7 separate regions of the Homo sapiens genome follow, and regions 2, 3, 4, 5, 6 and 7 are each linked to region 1. Evidence: promoter capture Hi-C in 16 types of primary human blood cells and fetal thymus (Javierre and others, 2016). All regions are on one chromosome and are shown on one strand. Each heading gives the region's core, a stretch centred on a gene start or on the middle of the fragment in contact. The rest is flanking DNA. Distances are from core to core; before and after follow the strand shown. Region 1 holds the start of PSMA2 (proteasome 20S subunit alpha 2). Region 2 overlaps GLI3 (GLI family zinc finger 3). Region 3 holds the start of URGCP-MRPS24 (URGCP-MRPS24 readthrough). Region 4 holds the start of MRPS24 (mitochondrial ribosomal protein S24). Region 5 overlaps BLVRA (biliverdin reductase A). Region 6 has its middle 24 kb from the start of MRPS24. Region 7 overlaps UBE2D4 (ubiquitin conjugating enzyme E2 D4).

Region 1 (3,714 bases), core at 272-2,771:
CGCGATAAAAGACCACATTTGCAGCCTGGGCAACATCGCAAGACCTCATGCCTTAAAAAAAAAAATTAGCAGGCAGGGTGGTGCACACCTCTAGTCCCAGCTACTCCAGAGACTGAGGCAGGAGGATCCCTTGAGCCCAAGAGCTGGAGGCTGCCAAGTCCCTGTCCCTAAAAAAAGGACCACATTTGTTTTCTTCATAAATAGGAACAGTGAATACATCCTGCACACACTATTCTGTCATATGTAATATAATGAGACCTTTTATTGCATAATTAAATTAATCTCGTTCAAAGGTTACAAAAAAACTATTACATACACCCACTGCTTACTGAAAACTGCCAAGAGAAAAGTACTTTTGGAATTTAAGACAACGTTATGTAATGGAAAGTGTATTTTTGTTATCAGAAAAAAAACCCAGTTTGAATGTCAACTCAGCTACTCACCGATGACCTTAGACAAGTTGTTTAATTTGTACAAGCTGCGGTTAGTTCATCTGTAAGAAGCTGAGATAACATTCATTATAGCAGTGGAAAGAGATGGAGCAGGTTAAGGTTAAGTTGCACCTAACAAAGTACTCAACAAGTTAGATCCCGCCTGCCTTCAGTTGTCAGGAGTACATTTTAAGTAAACTGGGCATTACTGATCCTTAAGAAAATGGGTAAGTCAGAAAACTTCCCCAGTCAATTTTTAAAAGTCTTCGGCGATGGTTTTCTCACGTTGAGAGCCATGGTTCGCCCCAACTGTATTTTGGAAAGTAAACTTATTATTCTAATCCCCTTTTCTACAATAGAAAAACCTACAATCTTGTTTAAAGTAAACATCCCCCTCCCCGACGTTCCCCCCAGTCCACCAAAAAAAGACCAAAACTCAAACTTGCCTCGTTGTTAGGGGTTCACAAAAAAGTGATAGGGGCTTTCGGTTTTTAGTCCTTATGTTTCTAATTCGTGCATCGAAGAAACCGAAAGCGGGAGGTTTTGAAAGACACTAGTGCCAAATGGAGACCAAGACTCCGACTTAACTGTAAAGCTGAGAGTTTTCCAAGAAAAGGGAACCCCACATATTTGACCAAGATTCCAAGTTTCAGAAACCACCGCATCAGGTCTACTTGAGCCAGGAAAAAAATCCTGAGTTCGGAACGGGCCACCCAGAGATGGTTAAGCTAAAACTGCCTTCTTTTCTGGTCTCCAAAGTGAAAGCGAATCCTTGGCTATGTGCCTCACCGTCCCGCAGCCCCATGTTAACCCCGCAAAACCGCATCCCCCCGACCCTCCAGCAGCCTCCGACCAAGGAAGCTCCAGGAATCCCGGGTCGGCCTGGCAAATGACTTTGCAAAGCCGCATTTCCAACTCCATTCCCTACTGGACCCTCCAGAAGCACCAATGCCGACGTCAGGATGGGAAAAACTAAATCGACAGAGTACCAGCAACCTCGACTACGCTGAAGACCTCGAGGGCCCCTTCCATACCTGAATGTAGTCAGCGAAAAGCTGTACCCGCGCTCCGCCATCTTTACCCGAAGAGCCAAAGCACAGCCGCACACATGCGCACTGTGGCCGATTTCCTTTCATTTCCCCGCCCCTCACCTTTCCTTTACTCTCTATGATTGGAGGAGAGTCAGAGCTGCTCCAAGAGCATGCGGGGTGTTGTAGTTCTAAGAAGCGAGGCTTGCCCGATTCTGTGCCTGTGCGCATGCTGAAAGCAGGGGCGGGACCGGGGCGGTCTTCCAGCAGGGAAAATGGCGCTGGCCATGCTGGTCTTGGTGGTTTCGCCGTGGTCTGCGGCCCGGGGAGTGCTTCGAAACTACTGGGAGCGACTGCTACGGAAGCTTCCGCAGAGCCGGCCGGGCTTTCCCAGTCCTCCGTGGGGTAGGTAAAGAAGGGCTCCGTGGGAGAGGGGGCTGATGACGGGACCTCGGGCAGCGTAGCAGACGCAGCTTACACAGTTCGCCCTCAGCCCCGGTTCTGATCCGCGGCCTCATGTCGGGGACGTAGTTCGTGACATTCCCATATTAGCGAGAACAGAACGACTGTTTTTGCGCTCCCTCCACCGCAAAAAAAAAAAAAAAAAAATTCCTCTGCTTGTTCCATTCGTACACAGAATGTAACCCAAGCTTGTGTCAAAGATAAATCATAGCCAGCCAGTAAGTAAAGCGCTGAAAACAGATTTTATTCAGTAACTACTGCAGGTAAAGAGCTGAGCTCCATCCCGGTTTGTGCAGAGGTGACTTTGGGCGTTTTAAAGGGAGAATGAGCGAGGCGGGAGTGTAGGGGCTCTGTAGAGTCAGAGAAGTGTAGTATAGTGAAGTCAGTGCAAATGTGATTAGCCGGCTGTGTCTGCTAGCTCGCAGTTGTCTTAGGGAGAATTCTATCCTCCCGCAGAGACTGGGAGACAAAGGCCCTATCCTTCCTAATGATTAGATTTCGAAGGAATGGCTCTCAGGGCCTTGAAAGAAAAGCTTCCGAGTTAGTTGCAAGGGATACGTATTTACAATTATATGCCCTTTCCAGGAAATGCTCTAAGGGAGTTCGGGACCTACTATCGGGGTATGTTGGCCAAAATAAATAGGAAATTTTCCAGGCAGCGTTGAGCTTTCTCAGGCAGGCACTTTAAAGGGGGGGCCGAGGTCATCCTAGGATACAGCCTTATGCTGCTAGAAACTATGCTAGAGTTTGGTCAAGTCTGTGGAGTTCAGGGATTTGTACAGAGTTGTCCTGAGAGGACAGTTCTGCAGGTCTCACTTGGCATCAAGGCTCACCACTCTCTGGATCTGTCTTTCCTTTCCAGCCCTGCCCTCACCTCCCCTCCCGCTTCCCCTCTCCCCCCTCTCCTCTTCCCTTCCCTTCCCTCCCTTCTTTCCTCCCTTCCTCCCTCCCTCCCGCGCAGTACATGTTTTCTGTGGTGTTTGAGCTCTGAGGAGCTGAATTCTGTTTCCCATGTTTCACTTGGAATTAATTTTAATTGGAAGTATCTTGGATGTTGAAACTGTCATGGCTTTGGCATTTACATTCTACTCAATTTCTAAGCAGCCTGAAAGTGATAATATCCAGAAATATACCAAGAAAATATATGCCACTATATGCCAAGCAATGTGCCAAGCTTTCTACATGTACTTCCTGGGATAATCTTGACAACAGTCCCATTAGGTGTATACACTTTCCAACTGAAACAGTAGGCTCACAATGGTCCCAAGTTCACAGACAGTCCTGAGCCTGTGTTGTTAATCACCGGGGCATGCTTGGCAATACTTGTGGACATACTGAAAATAAATGCCAGTTGTTAAGTGTTAGAGAACTTTGTGTATTTTTAAGAGTTCTTAAGATCAAAAGAAGTATGTGGGCTGGGCGCGGTGGCTCACACCTGTAATCTCAGCACTTTGGGAGGCCAAGGTGGGTCCATCACCTAAGGTCAGGAGTTCAAGACCAGCCTGGCCAACATTGTGAAACCCTGTCTCTACTAAAAATACAAAATTAACCAGGCGTGGTGGTGCACACCTGTAATCCCAGCTACTTGGGAGGCTGAGGCAGGAGAATCACTTGAACCAGGGAGGCGGAGGTTGCAGTGAGCCGAGGTCACGCCACTGCACTCTAGCCTGAGTGACAGAGTGAGACTCAGTCTCAAAAAAAAAAAAAAAAAGTATGGCACGTCTAAGAAATAGCAAGGAAAGGGTAAAGGAATGTTGATTTTATAAGCAATTCAGAAAAAGAGAAACTTTGAT
Region 2 (3,711 bases), core at 330-2,829, 950 kb before region 1:
AGGAAGAGGACTGTGTGGTCATCAACAAATAAGTTAGTCTTTCAGGGCCTTGGTTTTCTTCTTGTAGAAAATAAATGACTGGATTCACTAGTTGCTAAGGGACTTTCTAGCTCTAAAATTCTATTAATACAGTTTTTAACATAAAGATGAAGTTCTCTGAATTACTTACCAATTCATGGTTTTAGAATCATTTAATTTCTTGGATTAATACAATTAGGAATCATTAGAAACCTACTGCAGCATGAGAGGAAGAGAAGCTTCTTAATTTGAATCAAATTAAGGTCAATTTCAACAGGTTGAGCATACTATTTCAATGTCCAGCTATGGACTACTGAAGACATTTGCATCCTAGGTTGATGCTGTTGGTCTTTATTTTCTGGTGATTCTACATTTTATTTGCCTTAATTTAAGGCTTGTGGGAACACTTTCTGAAGTATACATAGAACTACATCACCAAAAAACTTCGTTCAATAAGAGAAAGCTCCCTTTGGCTCCATGCCTCGTGTGGTAGTGACACAACCTCTCATTACTTTCCTGCTGAGTCCAGGGCTCCTAAAGCGGTGGTCGCTGTGAGTCTGAAGGTGAAGTTCTGCCCTCAGAGTGTGCCTTTCCCAGTTACTCCACTAGATGGCCTTTCGCTTTAGGTAAAAAAAAGTTTTACAAAAGTAAAGTTTTCTATGCTGTTTCTGGAGTTTAAAACTGGGTGAGGACAGAGAAAAGAAATTGTTGTTCTCTATCTCCTCTCCTTGGAGCAGTTCCCAGAAAAATCTGATGAAGAGCAGAGAGAGAGTGGTACATTGCAGCACACAAGAAGAGAGCCAATGTCCCGTCAGTAGCTCCAAAAATGACACAGAAACTGCAGTGGTTGGGGAGCAACCCCACGGCAAACAGATGTGGGTTTCCTATGAAAAGCCAGCCATGCTCCATGTCAGTGTTTCTTTAAAGTTATGATGATGCACACAGGTATAGGAAGAGAACAGATGTTCTGGACAGGGGTCAACGTTCAATCCGCACGTCTGCTTCTAGTAAGTCTTTGTAGCCCATACACAAGACCAGGGCTTTCCCAAATGTGTGCTGAAGCCCAGCCTTGGAAACCAAGCTCACATCTTACAGAGGGGTTCTATGGATTCTCAAACGGGAGAAAAAGAAATGATCATACAAAAACACTCCCTAACAGTTGCTCTTGGTTCAGTTTTCCAAGTCATTGGAAATAAAGCTTGGATCCTTGGATTAATGCATATGAAAGGGAAAGAAAAAAGGAAGGAAGGGAGGGAGGAAGCAAGGAAGGCAAGCAGAGAGTGAGGGAGACAGAAGGAAAGGGAAGAATAAGGAAGGAACACAGGAGGGAGAAAGGAAAAGGTAAAATTGGGAAACTGAATTATAATTTGTGCTGAGCCAACTGCTTAAGGTTGGATCCATGTCTTATTAGTTCCCTGTTCTCTCTCATGCTTTTATGAGGATGTGCTGGGTGCCACTCACACCAGGCCCTGTGCTGGAGAACATGACAGACATGATTCTTGCCCCAAGGAATTAAGTCTACCAGAGGGAAACAGGTCATGGCTTAAATTACTATACAATTACAGTTGTGATAGGCATTATGAAGGGAGATAACAGGGTTTTATAAAAACATGTAATGGGATCATAAGTCAGTGTGCAGCATCAGGAATCAGGGTCCGCTTCTCCAATGAAGCAGCATTTAGAGCAGGACCTGAAGGATGAGTAGACACATCAGGTGTGCAGGGAAGGATGGGGTAGGAGAATGGGACACTACAGCGGACCGATGACACAGAAGTACCTGCAGAAGAACAGAGCCTGGTGCCTTTGAGGAACAGCGTGAGGGCCACGCATGGCAGGAGAGAACTGGCCAGGGAGAGACTGCCACCACTTGGCATGGCGAGAAGGCATGAGTTTTCTGTGGGTCAAGTGGACATCCATGACGTAGGTAAGCTTGGGTTAGCTTGCCAGGGCTCACCTAAAATGCTGTGTGCTCAGTCATGTCTCCAGCAGTGAGGATGTGGGAAATACCCCTGCATAAAACTCACATACACCCCAGGGGAAAGCCAGGCTTGCATGTCTGCCCCTGAAGAGGAGGGCATCAGGGAAACCTGGTGCTACTCAAGGGAGCAGGGGTGGCTAAGAAGGAGGTGCCAACAGTGGCCAGTAAAAAAAGGGACTCTCATATTTTCCTTTCCTGTCTCATCCAACACACTGGAGGAGCTGGACCCTAGAAAGAAAGGGAAGGCATCTCCTGGCAGCACTCCCAGGCCCCAGCTCCTTTAGGTGAGGTGGCAAAGGGAGGGCAAACAGCCTGCCAGTTCCCTTGAGGCCTGTGCCTCGCTGCTGACAGGGAAGGGAAGGCTCTGGATTGGACCTGAGATTGGACGTTTAAATTGGACACTTTAGTTATCCAAAGTGACGGGGAAGGTATAGAATCTGCCTACAATGGTGTTGAGGGATCCGGCACTGAGCAGAGAAGGGAGAACTGGCAACCAGCGGAGGAGGGCAGTGCCTGGAAAAATCCCAATCATTTCCTATTTATACCGCACCCAGCTTCTTCTACCTTTGCCACTGAGACAATGTGTGGAAATTTGAGTGGCAGGAAATCCCACACCAGTCAGCAAGCATGAACACCCTTGCTGTTGTCTCCATGTGGGGAGGGGTGGGGGAAACTTATGTTGGGCACTTAAAGCAACCTCATTTTCATAAGGTTAGCATCTTGGGAATGTTCCCTTTCCAATCCCTTAGACCCGAGTCCCAACTAATATATTTTTGCAATTTTCTGGAACTGCTCTTAAGTTCAAACTTGCATTGAGACCACAGTTATTTTTCTTTAAATGAAATTCTACACCTAGGAGGCTGGGGAACCAAGTCAATCTTCCTCTTCTTTACTGCTTAAATGCTGCACAGAGGATGTAATCAATTGCTATAAGGAAAAAGGGAGGCATCTCTCTGCCTGTTTAAGCAGTTCAAATGTATTTTAAGCTTAACATATTTCCTAGAACTAGATTTCAAGTGAAAATTAAAATTCTAAGAACTCACAGACTTAACATGTGCATGTGTTCTAAATATTTACTTTCCTTTAAAAAGCTGCATTGGGCCAGGCATGGTGGCTCACACCTGTAATCCCCATATTTTGGGAGGCTGAGTCAGGAGGATCACTTGAGCTCCAAGACCAGCCTGAGCAACACAGCGAGACCCCATGTCTAAAAAAAAAATCAGGGTGTGGTGGTATAGGCTTGTAGTCTCAGCCACTTGTGAGGCTGAGGCAGGAGGGTCACTTGAGCCCAGGAGGTCAAGGCAGTAGTGAGCCAGGTTTGCACTACTGCACTCCAGCCTGGGAGAGCAAGAACTTGTCTCAAAAAAAAAAAAAAAAAAGAAAATACATTGTACATTGCCCTCTGCAGTGAGTGTTCATCTGAGGGCCTATATCACAGTAGGCAGAGCACTGGAGGGCAATGGAGGAAGCATTCCAGACAATTTCTGATGAGTTGTGTACCTTTGGACAGACCAATTCACCTATTTGGCCCTTACTTTTCTCATCTGTAAAATTAGAGTAATGAATTAGATCAGGTGTTGGCAAACATTTTCTGTAAAAGCTAGATAGTAAATATTTTAGGCTTTACAGGGCTGTAAGCAGCCACAGACAACATTTAAATGAATGGGTTATCTGTTCATTTATGAATGTGGAAAACTTTCACGTGTCACAAAATA
Region 3 (3,374 bases), core at 779-3,278, 970 kb after region 1:
TACTAAAGGTTTTGAGACCTCAGCTTTTGCAATGGATATCCCGCAGAAAATTATAGATTACAAACTGCAGACTCATGGGGGTCACACAAATAATCACAACCGCAAATACCAAATGTCACCAACTACAGGGACACAGTTTAAGCCCTACTGGCTCACAGAAACACCAGTGAAGCATTAAGTCCACCTCTGACCCATGTCTACAAAGTAGTGTACTTGGGCACCAAATGCACCACTATTTTTTTTTTTTTTAAAGCTTCGTTCAGGGCAGCCCCACACAGGTTCAGCCACCCTCAACATTGCCTCCAGGAGGCTCTGCCCACCCTTTCCTGACAAGGGGGAAAGGAATGCTGCAGGACCTTGAACCCCTAGGTCAATCAGCCTGGCCTTCCCAGGGATGGTTCCCTGCTTACTCTATTCATGAGCTCAAAGTGCTGGGTAGTCAGCTGGCAATGAAAAGGCCTGGTCCCGGAAATGACCACTGCCCCAAAGCCTAGAAAGACAGCAGGCGGGGTTCAAATTCAGCTTGCTTCATTCAGGCCCACTGTACTGAGCCAAATCACCCCAGGGCATGGCTCAGGCCTCATCTGGAGGAGGCACGAAATCCATGATCCCGGCCCCTTAGCACCGTCCCCTCCCCACCCCTACCACTGAACACACACCTGTAAAGCTCTTTGGGAACTGTTCTGAATGGCTATCACAGCCACTAGATCCAAGACCCTCTGAATGATGGGTAACAGTCAAAGAAGAATTTTAACAACTAAAGCGATGACCTTGAGCCTAATTTCTTTCTTTGTAAAATGAAAGTGTTGGACTGTCATTCCCAAATTTCAGTACTAGTAAAATTATCAAAACAAAAAACAAAAAAATAATGAATTACTGAGGTTTTAGTTTGCCAAGTGAGAATTTTTTCTCAAAAATTACAAACTATATGTGTCGCCATCATTTCCTAAAAGGAATAACATTTAAATCAAAAAAGTTGAAAAGAGGTAATATCAAAATAAGCGCAGCCACCCCAAGGCAGGCCGGTAGGCAATGGCCCCGACCAAGGAGATCCCGGAGCGGCTCTCCGGCTGTCAGCAAAGGGTCTGCATCTGCCCGGATCCTGACATTCTGGGTACGTCTCAACGACGCGGCAAACAAGCGTCCACTCCCAACGCGAGCAAGTTTAAAACCCAGGAACATCGATACCAGGCGCCGGAGCGAAGCATTTCCAGGCCTCCGCGGGTTGCCCCGGGCCGCGGCGAGGACCCGCACCCCGGTTCCCCAGCCGCTCGCCGGGCCCTCGCTCCCGCCGCGCCCCGGGCACCTCCGGGCCTCGCGCCCTCCCCGGATCCCCTAGGCCCGCGTACCCGGACCCCCGCATCCCGGGGGACCGCTGTCCTCCGCCGGCGCCCCCGCCCGCCCCCCACGCCCGCGCGGCCGGTCCGCCCAAGGTCGGCGCGAGCGGGCCGTGGGCCTGGTGGGCCTGGCGGGCGGGGGCGCCCCTGGCCGGGTCCGGGCCGCATCCCAGACCAGAGCCCGCAGGCCAGAGCCGCTCCGGGTCCCGCTCCCGTTCCTGCCGGCAGCCGCGGGGGCGCAGGGCCTGCGAGGCGGCACTCACCCGGGCGACGCCATGAGCGCAGCGAGGTCTCCGCTCCCGCCTCCTTCGCTTCCTCCGCGCGGCCGCGGCTCGGCGCCGGGGAGGGGCCTGGCCCGCCGGCCGCCCGCCCGCTCCGGGACGCGCTCCAGGGGTGGAGGTGGGGTGAGGTGGGGTAAGGTGGGCCCGGGGTCCTCTCGGAGCAGCCCGGGGACAGCTGGGGCGGGGTGGGGGCGGGGCGGCCCAGGTCAGCCCGCAGCCCGCCCAACGCCCACCTGCCCAGGTGCCTGGAGGCCGGAACTCGCCGGGCGGTGCCTGCGGTGCCAAAAGCTGTAGGATAACCTGCCCCAGGGCCTTACTGAACTTCACACCTTTCTGTAATTGGAGTTTAATTTCTGTAAGAAAAGGCTTTTCTTTAGCCCTGAAGCGTAAGGCCTTATTATTAAGCAAAACAATAACTTTCCTACTTCTTACTTGCAGTGCTGTGTTGGACGAGTTGCTGGCCTCTCTGAGACGGTACCCATTGTAAAATGTGTATAAAGTGGCCTTGTGAAGCTCTAGGCAATGCGAAGCACTTTTATTATTCTTTATAGTGTGTTATTAAGAAAAATAATGAATCTGCAGTTCCTCCAGTGAGGTTTCACAACTATTCTTACAAGTTATGAGTCCTTAGGCAGGTAGATTTTTCAGCTTCAGTTCTTCTCTCTGCAAAATGAGTTTCCAAAAATGATCTAAGTGAAAATGCTTAATAAAAAGCTCTGGACAATGTAAACCATTGTTGATAACATTTTTAGTATTATATTAAATATCACTGGCCGAACGCAGTGGCTCACGTCTGTAATCCCACCACTTTGGGAGGCCGAGGCAGGAGGATCGATTGAGCCCAGGAGTTTGAGATCAGCCTGGGCAACATATTGAGATGACCCCCTGCCCGCCCCGCCCGTTTCATTTTTAAAAATAAAATTAAAGTTAAAAGTAAAATATCATTAACAACCACTATTTAAAAATGTTTACTACTATTAAGAATACAAGACAGCAAAGCAGTGATTAAAACCTTAGCTCTGAAGCCAGAATACCTGTGTTGGAATCTGGGCTCCACCAATTACCAGCCCCAGGAGCCCCTGCAAGATAGAACCTTTCCAGGGCCACAGTTCCTTATTTGAAAAATAAGGCTAAAAATAAGTCCCTTCCTCTCTGTGAAGATTAAATGAATTAATATTTGTAAACATTTGTAACTATTTTTAAATGTTAGTAAACATTGCGTGATGCATGGTCTCTTTTCCTCCTGGGAGAATCCAGTCAATGTTTCTGAGCCTCCTTGTCCTCTTCGGTAAAGAAATTCATAACTGCTACCTTGAGTTCAGAAGATAATTAATGCTCTGTAAATGGGAGCTGATAGGTAAAGCCACGCGAACTTGTGACACCCAAAATAAGGACAAATCCAGGAGGACCAGAGTTAGGAAGAGTTTGAGGAATGGGAAATCCTAAATCCTAAATGCCTGATTCAAGGGAGTAATGAAATGAAGGAGATCAAACTAAAAGAATTTTTTCTTTGTTTGTTTGAGACAGGGTCTTGCCCTGTCACCCAGGCCAGAGTGCAATGGCGAGATCTTGGCTCACTGCAACCTCCACTTCCCGGGTTCAAGCAATTCTGCCTCAGCCTCCCAGTAGCTGGGACTACAGGCGCCCACTACCACACCTGGCTAATTCTTCTATTTTTAGTAGAGACAGGGTTTCCCCATGTTGGTCAGGCTGGTCTCAAACTCCCAACCTCAGGTGATCTGCCTGCCTCAGCCTC
Region 4 (3,495 bases), core at 308-2,807, 940 kb after region 1:
TAGTGAATACTGAACCATTGCTCCTAGGTGAAATACAGGGTTAGATTCCTTTCAGCCTCTGGGCACCGTATTTTTGTTAACAAATCAATACATAACCTAGTTTCCTTTGTGTTTCTGTTTAAAGACACCTTGTTTAATATATATGGTAGATTCACTAACATTGAATTCAGGGCCAAGAGCAACTCATGACTGAAGAAAGATTCTCTAATACATGTATGTTCTCCCTAAGGCACGTCACAGCCTTCTCCCGCTTAGGAACACTAGATAGCACTTCAGCATTGCAAGGCCATTTTAAACAGCAAAATCACTAACAAAAAGCACGAAAATGCAAATTAAAAAAAAAAGATTCTAGACCATAAAAAGGACACCTTTTACAGTACGAGAGCTGAAACTAGGCAGAGCCTTGTCGACCTCAGCTCGGGACATGCACCTGGGGTGGCAGCTCCACCCACATCTCAGAGTGACCTTGAGAGTGCCCAGAGTGTTGATTTGGGGCTTACAAATAAATTTTAGTCAGTAGAAGAATCTGAAAATATGGAATTCATGAATAACGAGGGTTGTCTGTATATATTTACAGAGAAAAATTTGTGCTTTAGTGGAAAACTGCATTCCTTAGAGCACACTGTTCAGGGTTATCAGATTCTGCAACGGTTTCACTCCTTTCCTTGACTCTGAGCTATTTTACAGCTCTGTAAATTACAGATAACTGACAGGAATGCAAAATAATTCTTGTCTGTAGACATGCAAATAATTTCTGTTCAGTGGAGGATCAATTGAGTCCCTGCCTGCCATGGAAAAAGTCAGTTTTGCATCCATCTTCAAATTTGTTTCAACATCCTGATCTATATATATCTCTGCTTTTTTATGTCTCCCTTGAGTTGGTTTCATAGATTTCTGACCCTAGCATTATTTCCTGAGTTAAAGAAAACCTGTGACACGTGTTCATTTTGTTTACATGACAGTCGGATTGAGTGCTCCTTTTGGAGGCCTGGGGTCCGCTCACCTGTGTGCAGCGACAGCCAGCCTTTACGGTGGGCGATGTAGTGCGGCGCGTGTGCCTCCTCGTAGGTCACCGGCTTGTCCCCCTTGCTTACGCGTACTCGGGCCGCCCGGTTCTAGGAGCAAAAGGGGCCGTGACTCCACGAGATCCCCGATCCAGACCCCTACTTCGCGCCATGTCCCCCCAGTCAGCTGGCACTGTTCCCCGGCCCCAATCCCCTGATCCCTAAGCCCCGACCCTAGCCCCGCCTCGGACCCCAGCGACACGCCCCCTTCAGCCCGCACGGCTTCCCCGGCCCCCGGCCCCCCGGCCCCCAGGCCCCCAGGCCCCTGCCCCGGCGGTGCTCACCTTGGCGCAGACCGGGGAGGTGTGCAGGGCGCGCCAAGCGCAAGGCAGCTCTCGGCTCCAGGACAGCACCTGTGGAGGGAGGGCGCGTGAGGCGGAAACTAGGGACCCCACCTCCGACTCGCAGGGACCTGCCGAGTCGCCCCACTCACCCGTGGCCCCAGCAACCCGCTGCACACGGAGGCCGCCATCTTGGGCCAAGCGGAGCGCGGGACGTACCACAGCGCGCTGAGGGGTGGGGACGACCGCGGACGAGACCAAGTCGGAGCTCGTACTCTGTACTCTGGCGGGGGCGGGGCAGGGCCTCTGCGGGGCGGGGCCGCGGTATGCTGCTAGCTGTTACTCCCGCCTTCCCCGCAGCCCTGTGAATGCTCAGCCTTGTGAATGCTCATCCCGCCGCTGTTCGCTCTCCCGCGGTTGCTGCTTGCATAGGGTTTCAGATCCGGAAATTTGAGGATGCGAAACGTGAGATTTTCTCTTCGACAACCTCACGCTAGTACGGGTGATGGGTGTGCGGCCCACCGGAGCCCGCCCTGCCCAACCTGCACCCTCGGGGCTCGAAGAGGAGCCAAGCGTTTCCCCAGGTCCTAGTTATGCCTCCAAATAATATTCGTAGAAAAACAAAACAGAAAAACCCTCCAGACTTTTATCCACAAATAAAGAAGAAACATATTTTGGTTAAAACGTCACCCAATTCTTCAAGGATGACTTACGCAGTTATGCAAGAATGGGTTTGCCACATGTGACCACAGTGGTGACTGGCCCCTGAGGAAGGAAAATTTTAAGTACGGGGAAGGGGCCGGAGGGCAAGGAGATTCGTGAGAATATCGCAGGGCCTGTAATGCTGAAACCAGTGCGTCGCCACTATTATTGGTATCCAGTAATTATTAATGTCAAACGGAAAAATAGCAACGCGGGATATTTTATTTTAGAAGTCACCACGGTCATGGAAAAAACACGGGCTCTGGAGTCAGACCCATGTATAACAATCTTTGTACAGTTAAGACTCAGTTCTATTATCTATAAAATGGGCCTTAATAATAGTACTACCTTATAGAGCTATTAGGATCAAGAGAATATTTAATCAATGATGGGTTGTGTTTGGTTGAGTGATGTGAAATTGCCAATGTTTTGGCCGTTCTGGGTCTACATCATTCCCCTTAATGGTACAGTACTTGCATACTGCTGCGGTTTCCTGTCAGGGGGAGGACTGGATTATGATCCATGGGAAGGGGAAATGGAAGAACGGTGGAAATGAGTTGCCCATGACCACACTGAGAAGAGGGAAAGAGGGACCAAGACACAAGTCTCTTGACTTCAGTCCAGCCCATTTCCCATGACCAAGATTCCTCTGATTACATGAAGGTGGGTTCTCAAAAAACCCGTAATAAAAGGACAAGGTCTTCCATGTCCACTTCACCAGAAATGTTTTATTCTTACTTTTTAGGAACTGCGGCCCCCAACTGTTATGCATATTGAATAAAGGGACAGAACAGGGATGAGGTGCCCTCCAATGCATACTTTGCAAATGTAAGAACTTTCAACATTTCCTAAGAAATCCTTTTCAACTGACAATTATTTTTTAAAGTTTTCATAATGTTCAATAATTTTATAATTGTTAAGTTTCATTAATTTGCTCCAAGGTGGTGAGGAACATGGGATGTGGCATCTGAATTGCCTGAGTCCAAATCGTGGACCCAATGCTTCCTGGCTGTGTAATTTGGACAAGTGACTGAACCTTCTGAGCCTCGGTTTCTCTCATCTGTAAACTGGGGACAATAATGGTGGTTGTGAGAAGTACAGTATGATGTGCCTGGCAGAGGGAGAGAGCAGTTGTGGGTTTTGTTGTTGTTTTTAACGAGTCCCTGATAGCCACATATCCCGTTAGGGAGATGAGCCAGCTATTGAGGGTTCTGTGAGAACTCATAGCAACACCACCCTAATCAGAGGAAAGGGGAAGGAGAAAGGGAAACAAGATCCTTGGGCTGATCAGAGGCAGAGGTGGCAATGGCACAACACCTATTGGGGCCCAAGGTGGGCAGGGGCCACACCACGAAGGCTGTGGTTGGGAATCAAGTTTAGCCCATAAAGCAGTAGGCAATCAAATGATCAAATTTATGCTTTCCTCTATTCAAGCCATTCTCCCTTAT
Region 5 (3,748 bases), core at 403-2,902, 870 kb after region 1:
TGGTGGCACGCACCTGTAATTTCAGCTACTTGAAAGGCTGAGGCAAGAAAATCGCTTTAACCCAGGAGGCAGAGGTTGTAGTGAGCCGAGATCGCACCACTGCACAGCCTAGGTGACAACGAGACTCTGTCTCAAAAACAAACAAACAAACAAACAAAAAAGAACTAGAGCAGACAGTAACCAGCCCTGGGGAAGTCTTTTTGTTTTGTAAGTTTGATACTTAGGCCCCAGTGATTTCAAACCATATTGTCTATGAAAATTCTAATTTTTGTTTGGTTTTATATATAACTTATTACTTTTTAAGAATATACTCATTGTTATTAGTCATTGTTTTAAGTGAATATCAAGGTCATAAGAAATGTTTTGTTTATAATGTAATGTAACAGATATGAAGTCTTTTAAACTTAGGTTATGTTTAAGATTTTGGCTGGAGGCAGACGGGAGCAGTATCTTGACCAAATGGATTTCTCACACCAATACTCTTTTTTATGTTTATATATATATATTTTTTTGATATAGGGTATCACTCTGTCACCCAGGCTGGAATGCAGTGGTACAATTATGGCTCACTGTAACCTCGAACTCCTCAGGCCCAGATGATCCTCCCACCTTAGCTTCCTGAGTAGCTGGGGCTGCAGGTGTGCACCACGACACCCGCCTAATTTTGTGTGTTTTTTTGTAGAGACAGAGTCTTGCTATGTTGCCTAGGCTGGTCTTGAACTCCTGGGCGCAAGCAGTCTGCCAGCCTTGGCCTCCCGAAGTGCTGGTATTATAGGCATGAGCTACTGTACGTGGCCTTTTTAGGCTTACTGCAACCTCTGCCTCCCGGGCTAAAGTGATTCTCCTGCCTCAGCCTCCCAAGTAGCTGGGGTTACAGGCACCCGTCACTATGCCCGGGTAATTTTTGTATTTTTTTTTACTAGAGACGGGGTTTTGCCATGTTGGCCAGGCTAGTCTCGAACTCAAGTGATCCACCCACCTTGGCCTCCCAAAGTGCTGGGACTACAGGCGTGAGCCACCACGCCTGGCCCCAATACTCTTTTGAGTGTACTTTTTTGTTCACAAGATTAGGAAGACTAAGAAAACATTTAACATTGTATCAATTTTCTTGATATTGAAATAGCTCAAAGGTATTACCATTTTCTCCATAGCTATTATAATACCTTCATACCTTATTGCCACTTACACATCAGGTAGTTATAAGAATACAGGCTTGCAGGGCTAAAATACTTTGATTCTTCTACTTTTACCAGACTACTTTAAATCACTAAAGAGGATATATATATATGTATATGTAGGTATGTGTTGTGTGTGTGTGTGTGTGTATGTATATCTACATATGTGTACATAGATGTATATATTAGAAGCCTGAAACTTTTTTATTATCCTGTTTGGCTGGATTGACTGCTGTTTCCAGTAGAATGTTTTACTAAAACTCAATTTAATAAACAGGAAAAGACAGAGATGCTTTTATGATAGAGTTGAAGTTCAGCCACCTGAGTTTTCATCAGTATCATTAATCACGTTGCCTGCCTACCACATAAGGCAAGGTCCCATTGTACTGATCACTCGGCCACATCTTTTCACACCCCCGCCACCCCCACCCCCCTGTCCTGCTTTCCACTTGGCATTCCTGCTTCCCAGTTCCCACAGCATTTGTGATTTCCCACAGCTGGCCCGTTGGAAGAAGAGCGGTTTGGCTTCCCTGCATTCAGCGGCATCTCTCGCCTGACCTGGCTGGTCTCCCTCTTTGGGGAGCTTTCTCTTGTGTCTGCCACTTTGGAAGAGCGAAAGGAAGATCAGTATATGAAAATGACAGTGTGTCTGGAGACAGAGAAGAAAAGGTAAGTCATGAGAAGCCATGAGGAGGAGGAAATTTAAGGACATCCTAGTACATTTGCAGGTATGATCCAAAGGGAGCCCCGAGGGGCTAGACCCTCACTCCCAGCTCCAGAAGGGCTGTCTGCTTCTGCAGATGGAGTGCTGAGATTGCACTTGTGTTGCCTCATCTCATCCTCTCAGCAGCCCTGTGAGGTAAAGAAGACAAACATAATCCCATCTGCCAGTCAGTAGACAGAGGCTTACAGAATGCCAGCAGGTTGCCTAAGTCATGCAAGTCATTCATAGCAGATTAGTAGTGGAAATTACATTACCTTGGCTGGGCGTGGTGGCTCAGGCCTATAATCCCAGCACTTGGGGAGGCCAAGGGTGGTGGATCACCTGAGGTCAGGAGTTTGAGACCAGCCTGGCTAACATGGTGAAACCCTGTCTCTACTAAAAATGCAAAAATTAGCCGGTGTGGCGGTGCATGCCTGCAGTCCCAGCTCCTTGGCAGGCTGAGGCAGGAGAATTGCTTGAACCTGGGAGGCAGAGGTTGCAGTGAGCTGAGATCAGGCCACTGCATTTCAGCCTGGGCAACAGAGCGAGACTCCTTCTTGAAAAAAAAGAAAAGAAAAAGAAATTATGTTAACTCTGTGACCTGATTTTTTTCCTGTGTTTTCTTATGAAAGTTTTCGGGCATATTGTGAAGTTGAAAGAATTTTTAAGTAAACACCCATCCACCTACTCCCTAGACCCTGCCATTAACACTGTACATGTTCCCCGCAGGGCCACACATTCACCCCTCAGTGCAGCCAGAGTGTGAGGGTCTGTGTTTCAGCTTTAGCATCCCATCACCCTGTCACACTGTTCCCAAAACATTCTGACTTATTTCTCATACCAGGTCTTTTTTAACAAAAGCACATTCATAATTTTCCTCCCAAAGCACCTGGGCTCTGTAAATTATTTAGAACAGTAAGGGTTTTAGAGTGTTTCTGGATGCCTTTGCAGAGAGGTGGGTCTCCTGGTAGTAAAAGAAGCAGACACTGGGTATTTTAAAAAGAAAAAAGAATTTGAGTTCCTGAATGAAGCCTGATCTAGTCCATTTTGAGGAGTTTCTTCTTCGCTAGGAAAAGGCAGAGAGGCCTGGCAGATGAAAGCAAAGCACATGGAACTTGGCAGTGCTCCCTATGGAGTGACCAACAGTGGTGGCCCGGGCTCTGGTGTGGCCATGTGAGTGTTAGGATTGCAGCCGTGGTCAGACCTATACACAGACAGTTGTAGCACCCTGTAATTAGAGGTAAAGATACTGTAGGGTGCTGTAGGAGCACAGGGAAGGGGAACCTGGACTAGGTCAGCTCATGGTTCTGATGGGAGGCGGTGCCTTGTTTGGTCTTGAAGTTGAGTAGAAGTCAATGAGGAAGCAAGATGTTGGGGAGGCAGAGGCTGACTCTCTCTCTCTTTTTTTTTTTTTTTTATGAGACAAAGTCTTGCTCTGTCACCCAGGCTGGAGTGCGGTGGTGTGATCTCAGCTCACTGCAACCTCCATCTCCCGGGTTCAAGTGATTGTCCTGCCTCAGCCTCCCGAGTAGCTGGGATTATAGGCGCCTGCCACCACGCCCGGCTCATTTTTGTATTGTTAGTAGAGACAAGGTTTCACCATGTTGGTCAGGATGGTCTTGAACTCCTGACCTCAAGTGATCTGCTCACCTTGGCCTCTCAAAATGCTGAGATTACACGCATGAGCCACTGCACCCAGCCCTGGCTCTCATTTTTGCACAGGAGAGGCAAGCATCAGATGAGGGATTGGGACAGAGAGCAGTTAATATAATATAATAGTAACTTCTTAAAATCATAGTACTTTCCGTGTCCCAAATTGCATTTTTAAATTTTTTTATCTATTTATTTATTTATTTTGAGACCGGGTTAT
Region 6 (3,665 bases), core at 1,146-3,645, 910 kb after region 1:
TCTGTCACAAAATGAAAAAAAAAAAAAAAAAAGAGCCAATAGAAAGAGCCCCCAGTCACCAAAGTAGGCCTGAATTCCTAAGAAACAAAAGACTGCAGTATTGGAGCTTAAAGTTACTATCTGGATGTCTGTATGTTTATAAGTAAATGGATAAGCCAATGGAGTTGAATAGAAATTTACTACACAAGCCAGGCATGATGGCTCACTCCTCCAGGTGGAGTTGCCACTCTTCTCTTGGTGCCAGGCTGGTCCCTGCCCATAGCATGGCATTGTAATTGTTTGAATGTGTGTCTGTTTCTTCCAGAGACCAGGAGCTTTATTGTAACCATCCCTGAGAGGGATCCTCTCAATGTCCTCAGAACACCAGCTAGATCATGGCACATCATAAGTTCTCAGTGAAGAGTCATCCATTGAGTGAGCAATGAGCTTGATGGGACTCTCCTGGATCCGCTCTGTGCCACTACACTGAGTCATATACCGGAGACACTGTGACTACAAGTTCTGTTACAGCAAATGATATCAAGTGACAATGCAACCTAACTGGAATAATTTGTTCAGGGACTGGAGAGAGCTTAGAAACATCCTCATTCTGCTACTACTCATTCATCCTTATAATACTCCAAGACAGTCTTCCTGTGGGTGAGCCTGGAAGTCATCACTGTTTGCATCTCATTCTGCTCAAAGGTTTCCCTTTGAAACAGTGATGACCTCCAGGCTCACCCACAGGAAGACTGTCCTGGAGTTGGGAGGGTTGTAAAAGACAAGGTTCTGTATATAAAGGTGGGGATGGAGGGACATCCCTCACCAGTGCAGTGCTGCCCAGTGGGATGGGGGCGATTCATCATTGTAGTCATTATTGTCATCATCACTACCATCATCATCATCATCATTGTCACTGCCACTGTCACCATTTCCACCACCAGAGTGGCTGCCAATAGCTAAGTGCTCTGAATAGGCCTTACTGAAATTGTTCTTGCAAAAATTATGACAGTGAAAGACGTAACTGATTCCATCTTGCTTCCAACCTCACAAGCTGATTGTCTTTGCTCATTCCTGGGTGTAGGCCAAGCTTGCCATGGAAGGAGTTTAGTGTGCAGTTTAACCTTAAAGCAATAGCAATGGTACCTTCCCAAAACTACCCCCCTACTTGTCTGGGGATGGATGTCGCCTTTGTAAAACTAATAAAAGACCACAAAGTTAGAATTATAGGAGGGGTCTGAATTCTGCTAAGACCTATGCATAGATAAATGATAACTAGGCAAGCCAGGCAAGGTGGGTATGCCTGTAATCCCAACACTTTGGGAGGCCAAGGCAGGTGGATCGCTTGACCCTAGGAGTTTGAGACCAGCCTAGACCGTATCTCTACAGAAAATACAAAAAATTAGATAGGTGTGGTGGCATGCACCCGTAGTCCCAGCTACCCAGAAGGCTGAGGTGGGAGGATTGCTTGAGCCCAGAAGGTCGAGGCTTCAGTGAACTATGATTGTGCCATTGCACTCTTGCCTGGGCAACAGAGTGAAACCCTGTCTCAAAACAAAAAAAAATTAAATTAAATAAATGACAACTAGTCATGTTTTGTAACTTGCTTACTGCTCAGGAGTCATGTAGCCAGTGGTCACAAGATTTATAATTTGTAATGTACCTAATTGCCCCTATTGATAACATTGCTATTGTAAGACCTAAGACTGGTGTTTGAGATATTTTTCAGGCTTTGCATTCCGGTGGAACAACTGATGCCACTAAGACCACTGACCCCCCACCAGGAATTAAGTTCCTATGATTTTATCCCTGACCCAGCCAATCAGGATTTCTCACTCTCTGGCCCCCTGCCCGTGAAAGAAGTCCTTAAAAACCCTAGCCTCCAAATTCTCAGGGAGACCAATTTGAGAAATACCTTCTGTCTTTCCACTCAGCTGCCTTGTGATAATCAAACTCTTTCTCTGCTCCAATGCCACTATCTCAATGCATTGGCTTTATCTGTGCAGCAGGTAAGAAGAACCCATTGAGCTATAACATTATCATCTTCACAATAGTTTGTAGAAGGAAAGTGACTTGGTGGGCCAGTGACCCCCGTCCAGATCAGTCTGACTTGGAAACTCTTTCCACTCTCTCAAAACCAGCCAGCCCCCACCCTGACGCCATTGCCTGCTGGGGATGCCAATCTCTGAGCCATGCACACCCTCTGGGGCTCTGGCAACTGTGCTCTGGGTGAAAAGACAGCAGATTGAGGGTAGGAAGATATAGGCCCATGACCCAAAGCAGAATCCAGGCAGCCCACCTGGGGGCTGGGGCCATGCTTTTGGACTCACTGATAAACCATTGTGGGCATCTTCTGAGCCAGGCAGGATAAAGGGAGGACAGCCCCTGGGGCCCTAAAGTCAAGGCTGCCACTGACAGTGAATGAGCTTCTGTCACTGTTGTCACTGTCCTTAATGGGGACACTAAAAACTCAGCTTACCGAATGGGCTCTGGGCCAGAAAACAAACAGAAACATATGCATTTCCAAATGTGGTCTGTTCACCAGGGTAGCCTGTGCTTGAAACTAGCATGTGGAGGTGGTGCCCATGGGACATCCAGGAGGAGGCATGGGAGAAAGGCCTCTGCTCACTTCTCAGATGCTGACCACTGGAAACAAGAGGCCAGATGGGCTGGTGAGGTCTGCTCTTACTCCTCTTTTCAAACACAAGCCTAGAATCTATTTAAATATATATTTGCAGGCTGGGCACAGTGGCTTGTGTCTGTGATCCCAACACTTTGGGAGGCCAATGTGGGCTGATTGCTTGAGTCCAGAAATTTGAGACCATCCTGGGCAACATGGTGAAACCCTGTCTCTACACAAAATACAAAAATTAGCCAGGCCCAGTGATGTGTGACTGTAGTCCCAGCTACTTGGGAGGCTGAGGTGGGAGGATCACTTGGGCTTGGGAGGCAGGGGTTGCTGAGATAGTGCCACTGCACTCCAGCCTGGGCAACAGAGTCATCTCAAAAAAATAAATAAATAAAATAAAGTAAATATGTGTTTGTGGTCAGGCGCAGTGTCTCACACCTGTAATCCCAGCACTTTGGAAGGCCGAGGCAGGCAGATCACTTGAGCCCAGGAGGTGGAGACCAGCCTGGCCAACATGGTGAAACTCTGTCTCTACTAAAAATACAAAAAATTAGCTGGGCGTGGTGGTGAACGTCTGTAATCCCAGCTACTCAGGAGACTGAGGCAGGAGAATCGCTTGAACCCGGGAGGTGGAGGTTCCAGTGAGCAGAGATTGTACCACTGCACTCCAGCCTGGGTGACAGAGCAAGACTCCATCTCAAAAAGAAAAAAAATATATATATATATATTTATAATATAAATATCATATTATATATTATATTTATATAAATACATATATTTATAATACTTATATATTATAGTATATAAATATATAAATGTATATTAAGATATACTTTTAAAATATATATATACATATAAAATGTTTGCTTATATTTGGAAATCTTTGCCAGACATTTCATTGCTTGTCATATGGACAAATGATGAAAGTAAATAATTTTGTGGAGTGGAGTGCTGAGGCTAGCTTATACCGGCTCACAAGAGGAAATTGTTAAGTTTTAAGGACTGTTGTGAGCTGACAGTTGACCACCAAAATGAGTGATTTAGACCTAAGTCGTGA
Region 7 (3,813 bases), core at 515-3,014, 1.0 Mb after region 1:
GCTGGGCATGGTGGTGCATGCCTGTAATCCCAGCTACTTGGGAGGCTGAGGCAGGAGAATTGCTTGAACCCAGGAGTGGAGGTTGCAGTGAGCTGAGATTGTGCCACTGCACTCCAGCCTGGGTGACAGAGCGAGACTCTGTCTTAAAAAAAAAAAAAAAAAGTAAATAAAAATTAAAAAAAAAATTAGCCAAGCGTGGTGACACACACCTGTAATCCCAGCTACTTAGGAGGCTAAGGTGGGAGAATCACCTGAGCCCAGGAGGTCAAGGCTGCAGTGAGCCTCACCACTGCACTCCAGCCTGGGCAACCAGAGTGAGACCCTGTCTTAAAACAAAAGCAAAACAAGAATCAAGGTCAGGGCTGGCTTCATGTGTGTGTGACGCATTCACTCTCACAGGGCCCCAGGCTTGGATGGGCTCTGCCTTTGGTTTTATGCTCTGCTGTCACTATCAGGAAATTCTTAATAATTATCGAACTTGAGACCCTACATTTTCACATTCACAAGGCCCTGCAAATTCTGTAGCAATTCCTGGGGAAAAACAACAGAATTGTAGGAAATACAACTTTAAAAGTGTGTCAAGCCTGCCGTGGTGAGATGGCACCATTGGGCCACCACTAGTTAGGATGTCTTGGCTGCAAGTGACAGAGGCTGAGCTGCCCTTGTGCATGGAATTGGAGGTCCTGTGGCAGGACTTTGGGAGCAACTCAGTCCCCCTCTCCTGGTCTGTTCCTGTGTCACTCTGGGCTGAATGGCTCTGGAACACACAGCCTGCTGGACATCTGGGAGTAATAGAGACAACTGCTTCCAGAAGAACTGATAAGAATATTCTCAGAAAGCCCAGCAGATCTTTTTTTCCCTTTGCCTTGTTATGAATTATGTCTCATGCTCATTCCGAAACCAATGAGTGGCAAGGAGTCTGGTTACTCTTAGACCTGGAGCTGACAGTGAGTTGACCAGAACTGAACAGCAGTCCTTCAGAAAGGAGGAAGGCGGATGGGTGCTGAGCAGGTAGCCAGCAGTATGCAAGCCTGAGCCAGGTGTGTGGTGTCTACTAGCTGCCCCCTTAGTTTCCAATCCACAGCCCTTTCTAACCAACTTCAACCCTTTAAAAAAATGTTTTCAAATGAATGTTTCAAATTGAATATTTTTAGATGCACTTTTTAGTTAGTTAGTTAGTTAGTTAGTTTTTTGAGACAGGGTCTTGCTCTGTTACCTAGGCTGTAGTGCAGTGGCTCAATCATAGCTCACTGCAGCCTTGACCTCCTGGGCTCAAGCAGTCCTCCCACTTAGCTTTCCCAGTAGCTGGGATTACAGGTGCCTGCCACCACATCTGGCTAATTTAAAATTTTTTGTAGAGAGTGGATTTCACCATGTTGCCCAGGCTGGTCTCAAACTCCTAGGCTCATGTAATCCTCCCACCTCAGCCTCCTAAAGTGCTGGGATTACAGGTGTGAGCCACTGTTCTCAACCAGGACAGGGTTATATGTGGCAGCATTTCAATTTTTTAATGGTTTTTTTTCTCTTTGATACGTGTATTAGTCCATTCTTGCATTGCTGTTAGGAAATACCTGGCCAGGCACAGTGGCTCATGTCTGTAATCCCAGCATTTTGGGAGGCTGAGGCGGGCAGATCATCTGAGGTTAGGTCCTGGTCAACATGGTGAAACCCCATATCCACTAAAAATACAAAAATTAGCTGGGTATGGTGGCATGTGCCTGTAATCCTGGCTACTTGGAAGGCTGAGGCAGGAGACTTGCTTGAACCCGGGAGGCAGAGGTTTCAGTGAGCGATCATGCCACTACACTCCAGCCTGGGTGATAGAGTGAGACTCTGTCTCAAAAAAAAAAAAAAGAAAAAAAGAAATACCTGAAGGCTGGATGAGGTGGCCCATGCCTGTAATCCTAGCACTTTGGGAGGCTAAGGCAGGTGGATGGCCTGAGCTCAGGAGTTCAAGACCAGCCTGGGCAACATGGCAAAACCCCAGCTCTACCAAAAATAGAAAAAATTAGACAGGCATGGTTCTTGGCATGTGCCTATGGTCCCAGCTACTCAGGTGGCTGAGGTGGAAGGATCGCTTGAGCCAGACAGAGGTGGAGGTTGCAGTGAGCCGATATCGTGCCACTGCACTCCAACCTGGGTGACAGAGTAAGACCGTATCTTAAAAAACAAACAAACAAACAAAACAGAAAACCTGAGATGAGGTAATTTAGGAAGAAGAGTTTTAATTGGCTCACAGTTCCGCAGGCTGTACAGGAAGTATGGCACTAGTGTCTGCTCTGCTTCAGAGGAGGGGAAACTCACACTCACTGTGGAAGGCAAACCGGGGTGGGGGGGCGGGGGGGGTGGCAGAGCAGGCATGTCACATGGCCAGAACAGGAGCAAGAGAGAGAACAAGGGGAGGTGCTCCACACTTTTATTTATTTATTTATTTATTTTTGAGACAGGGTCTCTGTCACCCAGGCTGGAGTGCAGTGGTGCAATTTCTGATCACTGCAGCCTCCGTCTCTCTGGTTCAACTGATTCTCCTGTGTCAGCCTCTGGAGTAGTGTGTGCCACCATGCCTGGCTACTTTTTTTTGTATTTTTAGTAGAGACGGGGTTTTGCCATGTTGCCAGGCTGGTCTTGAACTCCTGAGCTCAAGCGATCCACCCACTTGGGCCTCCCAAAGTGCTGGGATTACAGGCATGAGCCACTGTGCCTGGCCATGACACACTTTTTTTTTTGAGACAGAGTCTTGCTCTGTCGCCCAGGCTGGAGTGCAGTGGCACGATCTCGGCTCACTGCAAGCTCTGCCTCCCAGGTTCACACCATTCTCCAGCCTCAACCTCCCTGAGTAGCTGGGACTACAGGCGCCTGCCACCACACCCAGCTAATTTTTTGTATTTTTAGGAGAGACGGGGTTTCACCATGTTAGCCAGGATGGTCTCGATCTCCTGACCTCGTGATCCACCCGCCTTGGCCTCCCAAAGTGCTGGGATTACAGGCACAAAGTGAGCCACTGTGCCTGGCCCATGACATACTTTGAAACAACCAGATCTTGTGAGAAGAGGATAATACCAAGTGGATTGTACTAAACCAATCACTTCCCACCAGGCCCCACCCTCAACGTTGGAGATTACAATTTGACAAGAGTTTTGTGTGGGAACACAGATCCAAACTATATCAATACATATTTAACACATATATTTTGCAATACATGTACTTTAAAGAAAATTTGGAAAATACCTGGCTAAGCAGGGTGGCTCACGCCTGTAATCTCAGCACTTTGGGAGGCCGAGGTGGATGGATCACTTGAGGCCAGGAGTTTGAGACAAGCCTGGCCAACATGGCAAAACCCTGTCTCTCCTAAATATACAAACATTAGCCGGGCATATTAGTAGGTGCCTGTAATCTCAGCTACTCGGGAGGCTGAGGCATAAGAATCGCTTGAACCCAGGAGATGGAGGTTGCAGTGAACCAAGATGGCGCCACGGCACTCCAACCTGGGTGACAGAGCGAAATCCTGTCTCAAAAAAATAATAAAAATAAAATACATAATAAAAAAATAATAATAGAAAAAAAGAAAATTAAAGAAAATTTGGAAAATGCCCCCAAAATTCAGTTTTTAAAAAACTCATCTCTAGTCATCTAAAGTGGGGTCACTTTTTCTTGCTGGAATGTGTGCCATCCAGTTCCCCTCCTGGGGGCAACAAATGTTAAAGTATATATATATATATATATATATATATATACACACACATATATATACACATATGTATGTGTGTATATATATAACATATATACACACATATATATACACATATGTATGTG

Evidence for each region. The method cuts DNA at HindIII sites, captures the fragments that hold promoters and counts their contacts. A CHiCAGO score of 5 or more calls a contact.
Region 2: a contact is called between a fragment that was not itself captured here and the fragment with the promoter of PSMA2 in region 1, in 1 of 17 cell types (endothelial precursors). The highest score is 5.1, in endothelial precursors.
Region 3: a fragment that was not itself captured here is called in contact with the fragment with the promoter of PSMA2 in region 1 in 2 of 17 cell types (non-activated CD4 T cells and total CD4 T cells); the score reaches 7.8 in non-activated CD4 T cells.
Region 4: the fragment with the promoter of MRPS24 here is called in contact with the fragment with the promoter of PSMA2 in region 1 in 10 of 17 cell types (naive CD8 T cells, total CD4 T cells, naive CD4 T cells and 7 more); the score reaches 21.2 in naive CD8 T cells.
Region 5: a contact is called between a fragment that was not itself captured here and the fragment with the promoter of PSMA2 in region 1, in 2 of 17 cell types (non-activated CD4 T cells and naive CD4 T cells). The highest score is 6.4, in non-activated CD4 T cells.
Region 6: a contact is called between a fragment that was not itself captured here and the fragment with the promoter of PSMA2 in region 1, in 6 of 17 cell types (naive CD4 T cells, total CD4 T cells, total CD8 T cells and 3 more). The highest score is 13.1, in naive CD4 T cells.
Region 7: a contact is called between a fragment that was not itself captured here and the fragment with the promoter of PSMA2 in region 1, in 2 of 17 cell types (total CD8 T cells and non-activated CD4 T cells). The highest score is 9.1, in total CD8 T cells.

Annotation. Positions count from the first base shown.
Region 1 is chr7:42,930,653-42,934,366 of GRCh38, forward strand. PSMA2 (proteasome 20S subunit alpha 2) reads right to left here and starts at 1,522. Exons shown (of 8, transcript NM_002787.5): 1 at 1,466-1,522. The coding sequence starts at 1,506. MRPL32 (mitochondrial ribosomal protein L32) reads left to right here and starts at 1,724. Exons shown (of 3, transcript NM_031903.3): 1 at 1,724-1,864. The coding sequence starts at 1,735. RefSeq lists an enhancer at 1,673-1,902. The HindIII fragment of the contact is 5,414 bases long and covers 1-1,822 here.
Region 2 is chr7:41,979,341-41,983,051 of GRCh38, forward strand. The region is part of intron 10 of GLI3 (GLI family zinc finger 3); the gene reads right to left. Among named protein-coding and RNA genes, the nearest start is that of GLI3, 260 kb to the right of the region's middle. The HindIII fragment of the contact is 731 bases long and covers 1,215-1,945 here.
Region 3 is chr7:43,904,962-43,908,335 of GRCh38, forward strand. URGCP-MRPS24 (URGCP-MRPS24 readthrough) reads right to left here and starts at 1,635. Exons shown (of 7, transcript NM_001204871.2): 1 at 1,601-1,635. The coding sequence starts at 1,614. It overlaps URGCP (upregulator of cell proliferation), which reads right to left and starts at 1,635. Exons shown (of 6, transcript NM_001077663.3): 1 at 1,601-1,635. The coding sequence starts at 1,614. RefSeq lists silencers at 1,411-1,840, 1,901-2,060. The HindIII fragment of the contact is 3,554 bases long and covers 252-3,374 here.
Region 4 is chr7:43,867,960-43,871,454 of GRCh38, forward strand. MRPS24 (mitochondrial ribosomal protein S24) reads right to left here and starts at 1,558. Exons shown (of 4, transcript NM_032014.3): 1 at 1,498-1,558; 2 at 1,349-1,417; 3 at 1,004-1,115. The coding sequence starts at 1,536. URGCP-MRPS24 (URGCP-MRPS24 readthrough) reads right to left here. Exons shown (of 7, transcript NM_001204871.2): 5 at 1,349-1,417; 6 at 1,004-1,115. The coding sequence ends at 1,027. It overlaps LOC124901620 (a long non-coding RNA gene), which reads left to right and starts at 1,687. Exons shown (of 2, transcript XR_007060296.1): 1 at 1,687-2,875; 2 at 2,989-3,495. RefSeq lists silencers at 1,270-1,329, 1,630-1,689 and an enhancer at 1,920-2,039. The HindIII fragment of the contact is 8,402 bases long and covers 1-3,495 here.
Region 5 is chr7:43,802,004-43,805,751 of GRCh38, forward strand. BLVRA (biliverdin reductase A) reads left to right here. Exons shown (of 8, transcript NM_000712.4): 7 at 1,673-1,844. Among named protein-coding and RNA genes, the nearest start is that of BLVRA, 45 kb to the left of the region's middle. The HindIII fragment of the contact is 6,752 bases long and covers 1-3,748 here.
Region 6 is chr7:43,844,009-43,847,673 of GRCh38, forward strand. No RefSeq gene overlaps it. Among named protein-coding and RNA genes, the nearest start is that of MRPS24, 24 kb to the right of the region's middle. The HindIII fragment of the contact is 2,656 bases long and covers 1,068-3,665 here.
Region 7 is chr7:43,929,281-43,933,093 of GRCh38, forward strand. All of the region lies in intron 1 of UBE2D4 (ubiquitin conjugating enzyme E2 D4), which reads left to right. Among named protein-coding and RNA genes, the nearest start is that of UBE2D4, 4.8 kb to the left of the region's middle. The HindIII fragment of the contact is 5,962 bases long and covers 1-3,813 here.